Linked DNA regions of Homo sapiens: region 1 is linked to region 2. Evidence: promoter capture Hi-C in 16 types of primary human blood cells and fetal thymus (Javierre and others, 2016). All regions are on one chromosome and are shown on one strand. Each heading gives the region's core, a stretch centred on a gene start or on the middle of the fragment in contact. The rest is flanking DNA. Distances are from core to core; before and after follow the strand shown.

Region 1 (5,395 bases), core at 872-3,371, 95 kb after region 2:
CAGCAGAGTGAGACCCTGCCAAAAAAAAAAAAAAAAAATCCTTATCTACCCCTCACCAGCTATGTGATGTCGGGCAGGTAATTTATGCTCTGGAGTCTGCATTTCCTCATCTGTGCACACACATGCACAACCCCCACATACGTACATGTATAAGTGTTTGTATGTATTTGATCCTCACAACAGCCCAATCATGAAGGTACTATTATTATTCCTTTTTAACATACAACACTCACACACAAAGTGCTCAGGATGGCAAGGGCTACGTAAGTATCTCCTCTTTTTCCTATTCAAGTCTCTAGGCAACATTTCCACTGGCATCTCCCACAAGCAACTCAAATCCTACATGTCCCAGACTGATAGCATAGCTTGTATTCTCACAATCCTGCCCATCCTGGGGGCTCTCTAACCACAAAAGACACTTACCTACTCATTCCAAAGGTCATCCTTGATGCCTCTGCTTCTCTCATCCCCATGTCCAAGTTCTGTCAAGTTCACTTCCTAAGGCCAGCTCTTCTCTGCCTCCACCCCAAACAGCTAAAGTTTCCACCACCTCGGGAACCCACAGGATTGGTCTCTCCCATTCATTCCATCCTTCTGTGGTGGGTTGAATTGTGTCCCTAAAAGCGTATATTGAAGACTTAATTCCCAGTACCTGTGAACGGGACCTTATTTGGAAATAGGCTATTTGCAGATGTAATTCTTAACTGAATTACAGTTAAGATGAAGTCACACTGGGTTAGAGTGGGCCCTAATCTAGTGAGCAGTGTCTCGATAGGAAAACACAGACACAAAGGGATGATGCCATGTCATGACAGGGGCAGAGACTGGAGTGACGTAGCTGCAAGCCAAGAAACAGCTGGGATTGCCAGCAACCCACCAGAAGCTGGGGAGAGGCCAGGGAGGGTCCTCCCAGTCTCAGACGGATTTTGGCCCTGCTGACGCCTTGGTTTCAGACTTCTGACTTCTAGAACTGCAAGAGAGTACATTTCTCCTATTTTAAGCCGACGTACCAGTTTGTGGTTCATTGTTTCAGCAGTCTGAGGACACTAATATATGTTCCTAACACATTCTCTGCACAGAGGCTTGAGTGATCTTTAAAAGCACAGATCTCACACCCCTTTCCCCCCAGTGTTTTTACTTCTCTTAGGACAGAATCCAACCTGCTCTGTCCCCTGCTGACCCTCTCAGCTTCACCTCTGACCACACTATCCCCACCTTCTGCAACCCATCACTCTGTTGGTCTTAAATGAAGGGCTGAAAGAGTAATTCAGTCAGAGCATAAATGCTAACAATTTATTAAAATGTAACTCAATTCAGAATTTCCCAGATTGGTAACAACGCCACCACCACCAACAACAAAAAATCATAAGTGGCTTTTCTCATTGTACAGTTTCATTCTCTTAAAACTTCCCTCTTCTCTGGTCTTTGAAGCCTGCCACAGCCCCAAGGTGAGGACATATGAGCTCAGAGGCCTGGAAATGACAAAAGGGGAGAAAACTCCTCTTCCTTGGCTTGTCATTACTTGTCACTGAACCTGGAACAAAGACATAAACCTGCAGAACAGAATCCTGACTTGGTGATTTGGCTTCATGGCCAAATGACAAAGAAAGGGTGTGGGGATTTCAGAGGAAAACTATTGTGGACACAATAGCTCTCCAGCAGAAATGGTATCAGCTTGTAAATATGGAGATCTGAACAGGGGGAAGTAGGTATCTGTCATAGATGTCACAGATGGCAATAAGCCAATTCAGGGGGCGGGGATGTAAAGGAATGGAACGGAATGTTACTCATAGCCAATTTGACAATTATTGAGCACCTGCCAGGTGTAAAGCTCTTTAAGAGTTAAAGGTCCAGCATTCTGATTGCTAAAAACTTCTTACATCTATTGAATCATGTTCTCTTCATCTGTCTTGATTCCCTGGAATCTACATAAAGCTGCTGTCATCAATCACTGAAGTACAATCCACAGACCCATTCCCACTGCCCACCCCCACCCAACCACCCTCAGAAGTCAATTAATTTGCTTTGGCACTGCACTAATACGCCAGAGGGAAGAGAATTCAGGTCTGTTTCCTGATCAGACTCATTGTGGGTAGGAGCAGGAGTGAGGGAAGGATGGGGACAGGATTTGATCTGGACTATATTCAAATCCATGCAAACATGGGCTACTAAAAAGGACTTCTGTGAAGTATTGGAGATCAAATTAATGTGCTGTCTGACTAAGGAAACTCGTAACTCTTGATATGGCAAAATGTGACCAAGAAAATTCTCCAAACCTCAAGCAACTGGTACCAAACAAGTTATCCACTTTCAGACAGGGTTTTCCCCCTATTATGTTTATTGGTGTATTCCCAGTGCCTGGCCCAAAGCAGGTATCCAGTAAATAGTTTTAGCATGAGCTCTGAATGAATATTGCCAACCATTTTCACTGTGATTAGAAAAACGGCTGGGTCGTTACTGAACTGTGAACCTAATAGTAGACAGAGGCTCTCTAAGAGAAGATGACGTTTGTCTGGGCAAGGACATATCCATGGGAATATGTGTGCCATGGTAAACGATGTGCAGAGTCAGGGAGGTAAAGGGAGATAAAGGTTTTCAAAGGAAAAAATGAGAAGGATTATATCATTGTTTTGAAATAATTATCTTTGGCTACAAAGATCAATAAGAAGGGTGACACTGGTCTGAGTTTGCACAAAAAGTTGCTGGGAAGATTTCTTCGAAAAAGTATTTTTTGTGTAAGGTTTTAACGGCCTTTGTGCAAAGTTGTTATTTTTGCAGAGCTTTTGTGATAGTTTTAGTTATCAAGCCTACAAATGTGAGAACCCCCTTTTCATAACCTTCTTTGTGTCTATATATCAGGCTTTGTGCCTGTGTGTGTGTGTGTGTGTGTGTGTGTTTTAACATAAGGAACTCCATTCTGATTCTGACAACTTTCGCAGTACCAAGGGCTTTTACGCATTTCCTCATTCACTGGTACAACCACTGGCTCAGATAAATTCAGTTACTAGCTCCATTTTCAGGTGAAGAAAAATAGGCTTAACAAGGTTATGTTAAAACCAGTGCACTGACACCCAGTGCACTCCCAGGTCAGCTCAACCTGAACCTTTGGGGGCAAAACCCAGGCACTGAGATCCCTTGAAGCTCCCTAGGTAAGTTCAACTTGATCCAAGGTAAGGAACAAAGTTAAGCTGGCCTAGGTCCCCAGCGGGCTGTGAAGGAGCCTAGGTCAGGACGCCAAGCAGCCCAGTCCAGAGCTCACAGTTACCAGCCACTGGGCTGCTTCCCACCCTCAGCTGGTATTCAAAGGAAGAAATGATTCCCTCTCCCTACCTACAGAAAGCCAACGAAGCAGATCATAACCAACAAGCGCATGCAACATTACCTCTGTCCACTCTAAGTACAAACAGAGCAAGCCCATGTGTTTCGAATCCTGACTCCACTAGTTTGTATTCCCATTTAAACAGTGGCAGTTGGGGGCAATGGATTTAGCCATTCCATCCCCATGGGTTTGCTCAAATTGCCTTGGATCCAGACAACTGAGATTTCCTCAATCTTATGTAAAGTGTGAACAGAAGTATCATTATAAAACTTGGCAGGGCGCAGTGTCTCAAGCCTGTCATCCTAACACTTTGGGAGGCTGAGGCAGGCAGATCACTTGAGGTCAGGAGTTTGAGACCAGCCTGGCCAACATGGTGAAACCCTGTCTCTAATAAAAATACAAAAACTAGCCGGGCATGGTGGCGTGCACCTGTAGTCCCAGTACTCGGGAGGCTGAGCCAGGAGGTTGCTTGAACCCAGTAGGAGGAGGTTGCGGTGCACTGAGATGTCACCACGCACTGTAGCCTGGATGACGAGACCCTGTCTCAAAAAAAAAAAAAAATTGTGTGTGTTGGCTGGGTGAGGTGGCTCATGCCTGTAAACCCAACACTTCGGAAGGGCAAGGCGAATAAATCACTTGAGCTTAGGAGTTCGAGACCAGCCTGGGCAACATGGTGAAAATCCATCTCTATAAAAAATACAGAAATTAGCCAGCGTGGTGGTAAGTTACTGTAGTCCCAGCTACTCTTGAGGCTGAGGTGGAAGGATCACCTGAGCCTGGGAGGTTAAAGCTGCAGTGAGCCTTGATCATGCCACTGCACTCCAGCCTGGATGATGAAGCCAGACCCTGTCTCAACAAAAGGAGAAAGAAACAAAGAAAGAAAACACGTGTGTGTTGATGTAATCTCACTAAAAATAGTGTGAACTATATAAATTAGTTTTAAACAGGTCCCTTAGCCTGCTCCCACTGTTGCCCCAAACAGACTGGGACCCTTAACTTCCCTTTATATAAATCCAGAGCCCCTGCTACCTAAGCCATTCTCAAGACAGCCAGCCCTGGGTCCCAGCAGGTCACACTCAGTCCCTCTCCCCTCCCTTAGCCTAGAAGGGGCAGGGCCAGCTTGTGCTTTGCTTTCAGTTCCCTGCACCTGAGCACTAGGCTGCAGGCTCAGCTTACCTGCAGCAGCCACAGCAGCAGCACTAGAAGCAGCAGCAGCGAGGGGTGCCTCCCGGATCTCATGGCCATATGGGAATACCCAAGACAGACCCAGAACGTGCAGCTGATGACCAGTCCTCCAAGCTGGTGGTCTCACCGGAGCCACACACCTCCTTCTCAGCCAGCAGCTTCTTCTCTAAAGGTTTTCAGGTCACTTTGGCCCAGATGCTTTCATCCCATCTTGCTCCTCCCTTTTCAGCTTTTCTTGCATTTATCAGAGTGGGGTGGGCTGACTTGTAAGCTTGAACATACGTTTGCCACAAGTAGAGTTCCTAGGAAGGGTGGGGTAGAAACTAAAGCCACCATGGTCCTGCACGTACACAAAAGACTGGCTGGGGTCTGACCTCAGGAACAACAGCTCAGCCAGCGGAAGTAAAACCAGCACCTATCGGAAAGCAGAATTATTTGTTTCTTTGTTTCCTTGTTTGTTCTGGTTTCCAAATAGAAGGTCCAATCATCTCTTTCTATAGCAGGATATGTTAGTGACTATTTTCTATAATCTTATCCTCTTGAACCAAACAAAAAAAACTAGAAAATGACAAGAATGATAACTTTATTAAGGGGGAAGGGATGGGGAAGAATGAAAGAAAAGAAAAATCAACTTTTACTTTCCAAAGCACTAAAAATCGTTATTCCAACAATATCCCAGGGCTCTGGGGTTTTCAAATTATTTCTACTAAAACCTTTTTTAAGCTTAGATTAATCTGCCTTTTTGAGTTTGGAATTAAAGTGGGAGGGAGGAGAGATGGGAAAGAGCCTCCCTATGGACAGGGATCTCTGTGGCAACCCGGGAGTCTTTGCATGAGAATTCTGAAAGAGACAATTTGAGATTATATTATACCAATACTTAAGGTTGCAGTA
Region 2 (5,928 bases), core at 2,649-5,148:
TGTATGTGTATATCTGCTATTTTTCTATATCCACATATGTGTATGTATGCATATAGATGTGTTCATGCATGTATATATGTGTGTATATCTATATCATTGTGTCATGCATGTGTCGATGTCAGTGCATGTGTGTATATGTACATGAATGCACATGCATAAATGTGTATATATGTGTGTATATATGCATGCATGAGCATATTTAAATATAGATGTGTGTATATGTTTACATAGGTGTATGTGGGCATGTATGTGCATATATGTATAGGCATGTGCATATAGGTGTGTGTTTATACATAGACATGTGAGTATATATGTATATATCTATATGTGTATATATGTATTATACATATATGTAGATGTGGGCATAAGTATTTGTGAGTACATGCATGTGTACTGTATATGTACGCATCTATAAGGATGTACATTTATGTATCTGTAGGTCTATATGTGCATGTGCATGTGAGTGTATGTGTGTACATGTGTATACATAGGTATGTGTGTATATATGAATGTGTGTCTGTATGTGTATTCATCGTGTGTATATGTGTGTCCATGTGTGCATGTGTTCCTGTGTGTGCATATGTGTTCCTGTGTGTGCATATATGTACATACGTGTGTGTCCACAGCTGGGTTGTGAGAGTCACACAGCAGGAAACAGGTGTTCCCTGACTGCGTCCCCAGAACGTATTCTCCGAGGGCCTCTCAATGACTCTCTGCTGGCCTCACTTTCAGGCCCCCACGCTGGGTCTTATCCCACCTCTCCCTGCCCTCGGCTCCTTCTTTGCACAGGTTCCCATTCACCAGAGGCCCCCGGCTTCCTCCCCACACCAGGTTACCTTGGGAAGTGGGAAAGCCGGAAGAGGAGACCTCACAGCAGAGCCTACCAACAGCTGCTCAGTGGCAGGACCCAGGGCGGCTGCAAGGAAATGAAATCCCCTCTCACTTAACAGCCTAATAAGGATTTGAACCTGAGTCTGCCAGGAATTTCAGTTTAACTGCTTTCTCAGATGTGAAGAACATGTCTGGGCTTTCAAGCATGCCCCAGGGAGGAGCCGCGACAGGCTGAAGGGGAGGATGGCGCCTGTTGCTGAGGCTCCACCTGCCTGAGCTTCTCTGTGAGGCCCCGGAAAACAGCACAGGCCTGGCAGGGGAGCTAGATGTGCAGATGAGAGGGGGCAGCCGCCCCAGGAGACCAGCGCTTGTTGCGGGGAAATGATGTCAGCAAGACGCAGCGGCAGCAGCAGCAAGGAGTCACTTAAGGACATTTCCAGCTGCCCTGGGCAACCTGATCCTCCTGGGAGAGGGGCCCACAGACTCAGAAGGGCTGCAACGCTCAGAGCCCAATCCTCAGGGCTGCGCACTTAGCCAGACAGGCTGAGCTGCATGAAACTGCTTTGTCATTCACACTGGGCCATTCACACTCTCCCAAGTGGAGTCCTCACCCCTGATCTGCCGGTTGGTGGCCAGGCCCAGGGCCCCTCACTTCCTCCTTCCGCCTCATGTGTTCTGCTCAGCCACATTGGCCTCCTTCTAGTTCTTCAACAAGAGGCTCATCCCCCTCCCAGGGTTTGCTCTGGTGCTCCCTCTGCCTGGAGTGCCCTTCCCAGCTCCTCACAGGTGCGGCTTGTTCTGGGCAGTCAGGTGCTTCAGGCTTCCCTGCCCCCCTGCCACCAGCCTCCTATTTAATTTCATTCTTGCAGCTGGCCCTTTTCTACTTTGTCGTGTTTAACTCCCTACCATTTATTTTTCTCCTCTCTCCCTGGAAGGCGAGCTCCCTGGTCATCGTGGGCCTTCCGTGTGTTTCTCATGCTGCGTCCTCAGAGCCTAGAGGCATGGAGTAGCTGCTCACTGAATCCTCACAGAATGAATGAATGATTGACCACACCCATCACATTAGGCCTTATGGGATTATTATCAAGAACGCCCTATTTAATGATGGGGACATGCTGCCCCACTTCCATCCCTGGGCCTTGGTGCACAGGCCAGAAAGTCCGAGACAGACCATCTGTCCTCCCTACAGGGGACCAACTTGCACAAACAAATGGGCATCAGCACCCACTGGGAGCAGCCGTGACCCCTGGGTCCTCGGTACCAGCCACAAAGCCAGTTCTGAGTTTGTTCAGAATCCTGCTTAGAATGAAGGATGCTCCTACACCAGAGATCTCTTAATACGACCACCAAACACCACGGGATTTTCAAAGGTAGCTGCCACAGCCGCCGCACACAAGCTCTGTTCCTGGCTTGCTTCTGCCATCTGCTGGCCAGTTGATAAAAGGCACCGGGGGTTATTTTCCAGTCTCTCTGAGGCTCTTGTTTTGTGGGAGGAACTCATCACCACCTTTATCTTCACAAGGGCTGCTTGGCAGACCTGTCCCATAAGTAGTGCAACTTGGGAAGATCCTAGGCCTCTTGTGGGTAGGGCAGTCATCCAGTCCTGCATCTTATGACTTCACACGTTACAAACGTTAACTTGCTAAACACTCAATGTGAAACCTAGGAGTAAGGGACAATTATCTTTACTATCTACAAACAAGGATGTTCAGGCACAGAGAGGCTCAGTACATTGTGCAAAGTCACACAGCTACAGAGTTGTGAAGCCGAGATTGGAACTCAAGCAATAAGGCACTTTGATGGCAGGCACCTTAATGGGGGGTGGGGGAACACCCTTTACCAACAACCATGCAAATGGCCCAGGTGCTCCTGTGACCCCTGATCCCAGGGGCTCCACCAGAGCACCAGAGAGAGAGGGATGTGGGAAGAGCAGAGGACAGAAGAGGACACGTGCATCTAACCACTCGGAGGACAGGAGAAGGCACCCTAACCTTCTGAGCTGCCATCTTCCAATCAGGAGGAGGGGAGCACTGGATACATAATCTCAAGGCTTTCCCTACAGTTCTCTCAACAGGACAGACAGGCAGGGGTGCACAGTGGTTAGAGCACAGGCTTTTTGGTCAGACAGAACTGGGTTAAAGATCAGACACGTCCACTCACTCTCAATGAGTCCATATCTGTAAGCCTAAGCTTCCGTCCTCACACATGTTGATAAAAGAAAAAGAAAAAAAAAGGCCAAGTGCAAAGCTTTTAGCATTGTTTCTGGTTCAGGGTATGGACTTAATACTGTTTTCTATCATTATAACCACACTAAAGGCTCTGAGAAGTCCTGCAGGAAGGAAAACTACTTGTCTTTATCTCAGCCATCCCCAAGCTAGCTGCCCACAGAGCCACCATGGAGCCCACAGCTCTGTCACCCCACAGGGCCCATGTGCCTGGCCCATTCATGTTCCCTCACACGGGAGCCTCAGGCCCCAGTGGAAACAGACTCAGGAGACAAACCCAGGCCTCCTGCTCCCAGCTCCCCACTCTGTCCTTCTGCTTCTACATCCAACTACCCCCAAAGCAGTTTCTACAATCCATAAACAAAAGAATTCAGAGACAATTCTCCAGGGCTCCCAAGACGACATATTTCATCTGTGGCTTCTACAGTGCTTATTTGTCAGTTTTACAGACCAGAGGCAATTAAGAGTCTAAGGCCGAGAAGGCTGTTTTTAATAATTCTGTCATTATTCTCAATTTTCAGCACCACCACACATGAAAAACCCATTTCCAATTCCCTTAAAGGTGTTAAATGGTTTTTGCACTGTGTTGCAAAAGTTTGCCGTCCGCCAAACTGCTACAAAGTGGGCTTGTAGCGTCCGGTCCTGAGCTGTGGGAACGACTTGGTCGGGGCTGATCCGCTGGAGCCCAGCTCTTTCCCCAAGCGTTCAATTCCCAGCACATGCCGCGTGGGTCACTGTGGATTTCAGGGTGGACTCACCGCGCTGCTGGGTGTTGCAGTCCACGCGATTTCACAAGACTCCATGCAGGACACCTCCACCCGGCCCAGGCTCAGGCAGGATATGAACAGGAAACCACTGTTTCCTGCCGATCAACACCCAGGAACTGATGAAGTAACCCAGTGCCCAGCCCCTCTGACAGCCACAGAGCCAAGAAGAGGGAAGTGAGGTGGCATCCAAGGCAGCCCCTGAAAGAACTAAGCAAGGCAAGTTCAAGGGGTTCAGGGCTCTGCAGCAGCTGATGGGGAGCAGGGAGGAGCATTCCGTTTTCAGGGCATTGAAAGTCCTTGAAAGGAGAAAATTTTATAAGGAATGACAAGGCCTGGATGCAGAAGGTGGGAGACCCCTGCCCTTGATAACCGTCATAGTTACCAATGACAACTATGATAAAGAGATGACTTTCTGTGGCTCCCACTTGCTGCCCTCTGTGGTTCCAGGCACATCACAGAGAACTCTTCATTTTCATGAGGCCCCATAAGGACATCCCTATTACTATGATCCTTATCAATATCCTGATGTTACAAATGAGGGAACCAGGACACAGAGACGCTGAGGAACTTGTCTGAAGTTACATGGTGGAGACATAGCCTGGGACGCAGCAGTGAGAGGGACAGACGAGCCCTGCCCCTGTGCACCAAGCCATCTGCTGGGGACGCAGAAATCAAACAGCTCGTGGCTGCCCTTGTGCCCAGCGCTGTGGGCATGAGCGAGCTGCTTTGAAGAGACAGCGTGGTGACCTGCCCTGCTGGCCCAGGCAGCATCACACGGCAAGAAGGCGGGCTTTGAAGGGTTTTAAACAGAGTCGTGTTCCCACGTCTGCAGTGAGAGGGCTGCAAGCCTTTGTGTTTTTCACACGGTGTTACACAGCGTTGGGGTCCACGGACCTGCCTCGGAAGCTGCTCATGGGCAAATGGACGACCACGGGTGGGGAAGGAAATTTCCCCCAAACACACACATGCTTCACCCAGAGCAGCCAAGCTGTTTGTGTGTTTGTGTGTATTCACGTGTGTATGTGTGTGTGTGTGTCTTATGCCTAATGGTTCATTGAGTTTAAGGATCTCTCAGCTCCCTTGCAGCACAAATGTTTCATAATTTGGTGGTTAGCGCGCAGTGACCAGGCAATACAGGTTCATCAAAATGCACCAATGAGACAGAGACAGGAGAGGATGTTTTGGCAGCAGACAGACATCCAGGAGGCCTAGCACACCCCCATCCCCCGGCCCCAACCTCAGAGAGATAATCAGGGGAGCAAAGGGCATTAGTATGAAACGACCAAAGAGACTTAGCGAGCAACGTCAGACTCCCTGCAACACGCGTGCTGATGGGACAGAGGGGGAGTTATTTTTATACTTCAGAAATAACCAAGCATTCTGCATGCCCAAAGCCAGTTTGGGTTTTAAATACCTTTCATAATTTTTCTGACTATGGAGGTAATACATCCTCAGGGCATAAAATTTAGAAATTATAGAAGAGTATTTTTAAAAATCCAACCATTGAGCAATAACCATTATAAAAATCTTACTGTTTTCCTTTCTTGTCATTTATCTAGGCTCATACAGATATTTGGGGCTTTTTTCACAAAACTAGGAAAATGTTAAAATATATATTCTAATATTGTCTCGATTTTATTATTAGATTTATCATAACCATAAAAGATTTGAACACTTTTAACGACAGCGTATTATTCCATTTCCATGGAATTACTGTAATGAATCTCCTACTGTTGGGTTTCAGTTGCTTCCAAATTTGAATGTAAATAATTTGGGGGCAGTTCTCACTCCATCAATGGCAGACTAGGTTGAATACAGCCGAGGTTTTGCAGGCACACACTATGCCCAAATTAAAGCCACAGCCCAGGATGTTGGCCATGGAGAGATGATGCTTTCAACTGTATCAACTCTTGAAGCTGGTGAACCATGGCTTCTCCCCTTCAGGCGCTGGCAGACCTTCTCCTCACACTCTTGGCTCTTTGCTGGGCTGACAACTCCCTACTTGCCCTGCAGGCCTTCCCTGAGCTCTGGGGTCTTCTTTCTGCCCCCTTCCATAGCTCCCCGTGGCTGCCACATCTCAGCACTGACATCCTACGTGGCTCTTT

What was found. Contacts are between HindIII fragments. The CHiCAGO score rates a contact against its expected background, and 5 or more counts as called.
Region 1: a contact is called between a fragment that was not itself captured here and the fragment with the promoter of LINC02910 in region 2, in 1 of 17 cell types (neutrophils). The highest score is 5.4, in neutrophils.

The regions. Positions count from the first base shown.
Region 1 is chr20:59,957,896-59,963,290 of GRCh38, reverse strand. It overlaps CDH26 (cadherin 26), which reads right to left and starts at 4,868. Exons shown (of 18, transcript NM_177980.4): 1 at 4,496-4,868. The coding sequence starts at 4,564. The HindIII fragment of the contact is 5,313 bases long and covers 1-4,777 here.
Region 2 is chr20:60,053,895-60,059,822 of GRCh38, reverse strand. LINC02910 (long intergenic non-protein coding RNA 2910) reads right to left here and starts at 3,898. Exons shown (of 4, transcript NR_161293.1): 1 at 3,815-3,898; 2 at 837-916. RefSeq lists enhancers at 1,118-1,367, 1,074-1,875, 1,971-2,150, 2,161-2,210. The HindIII fragment of the contact is 13,245 bases long and covers 3,081-5,928 here.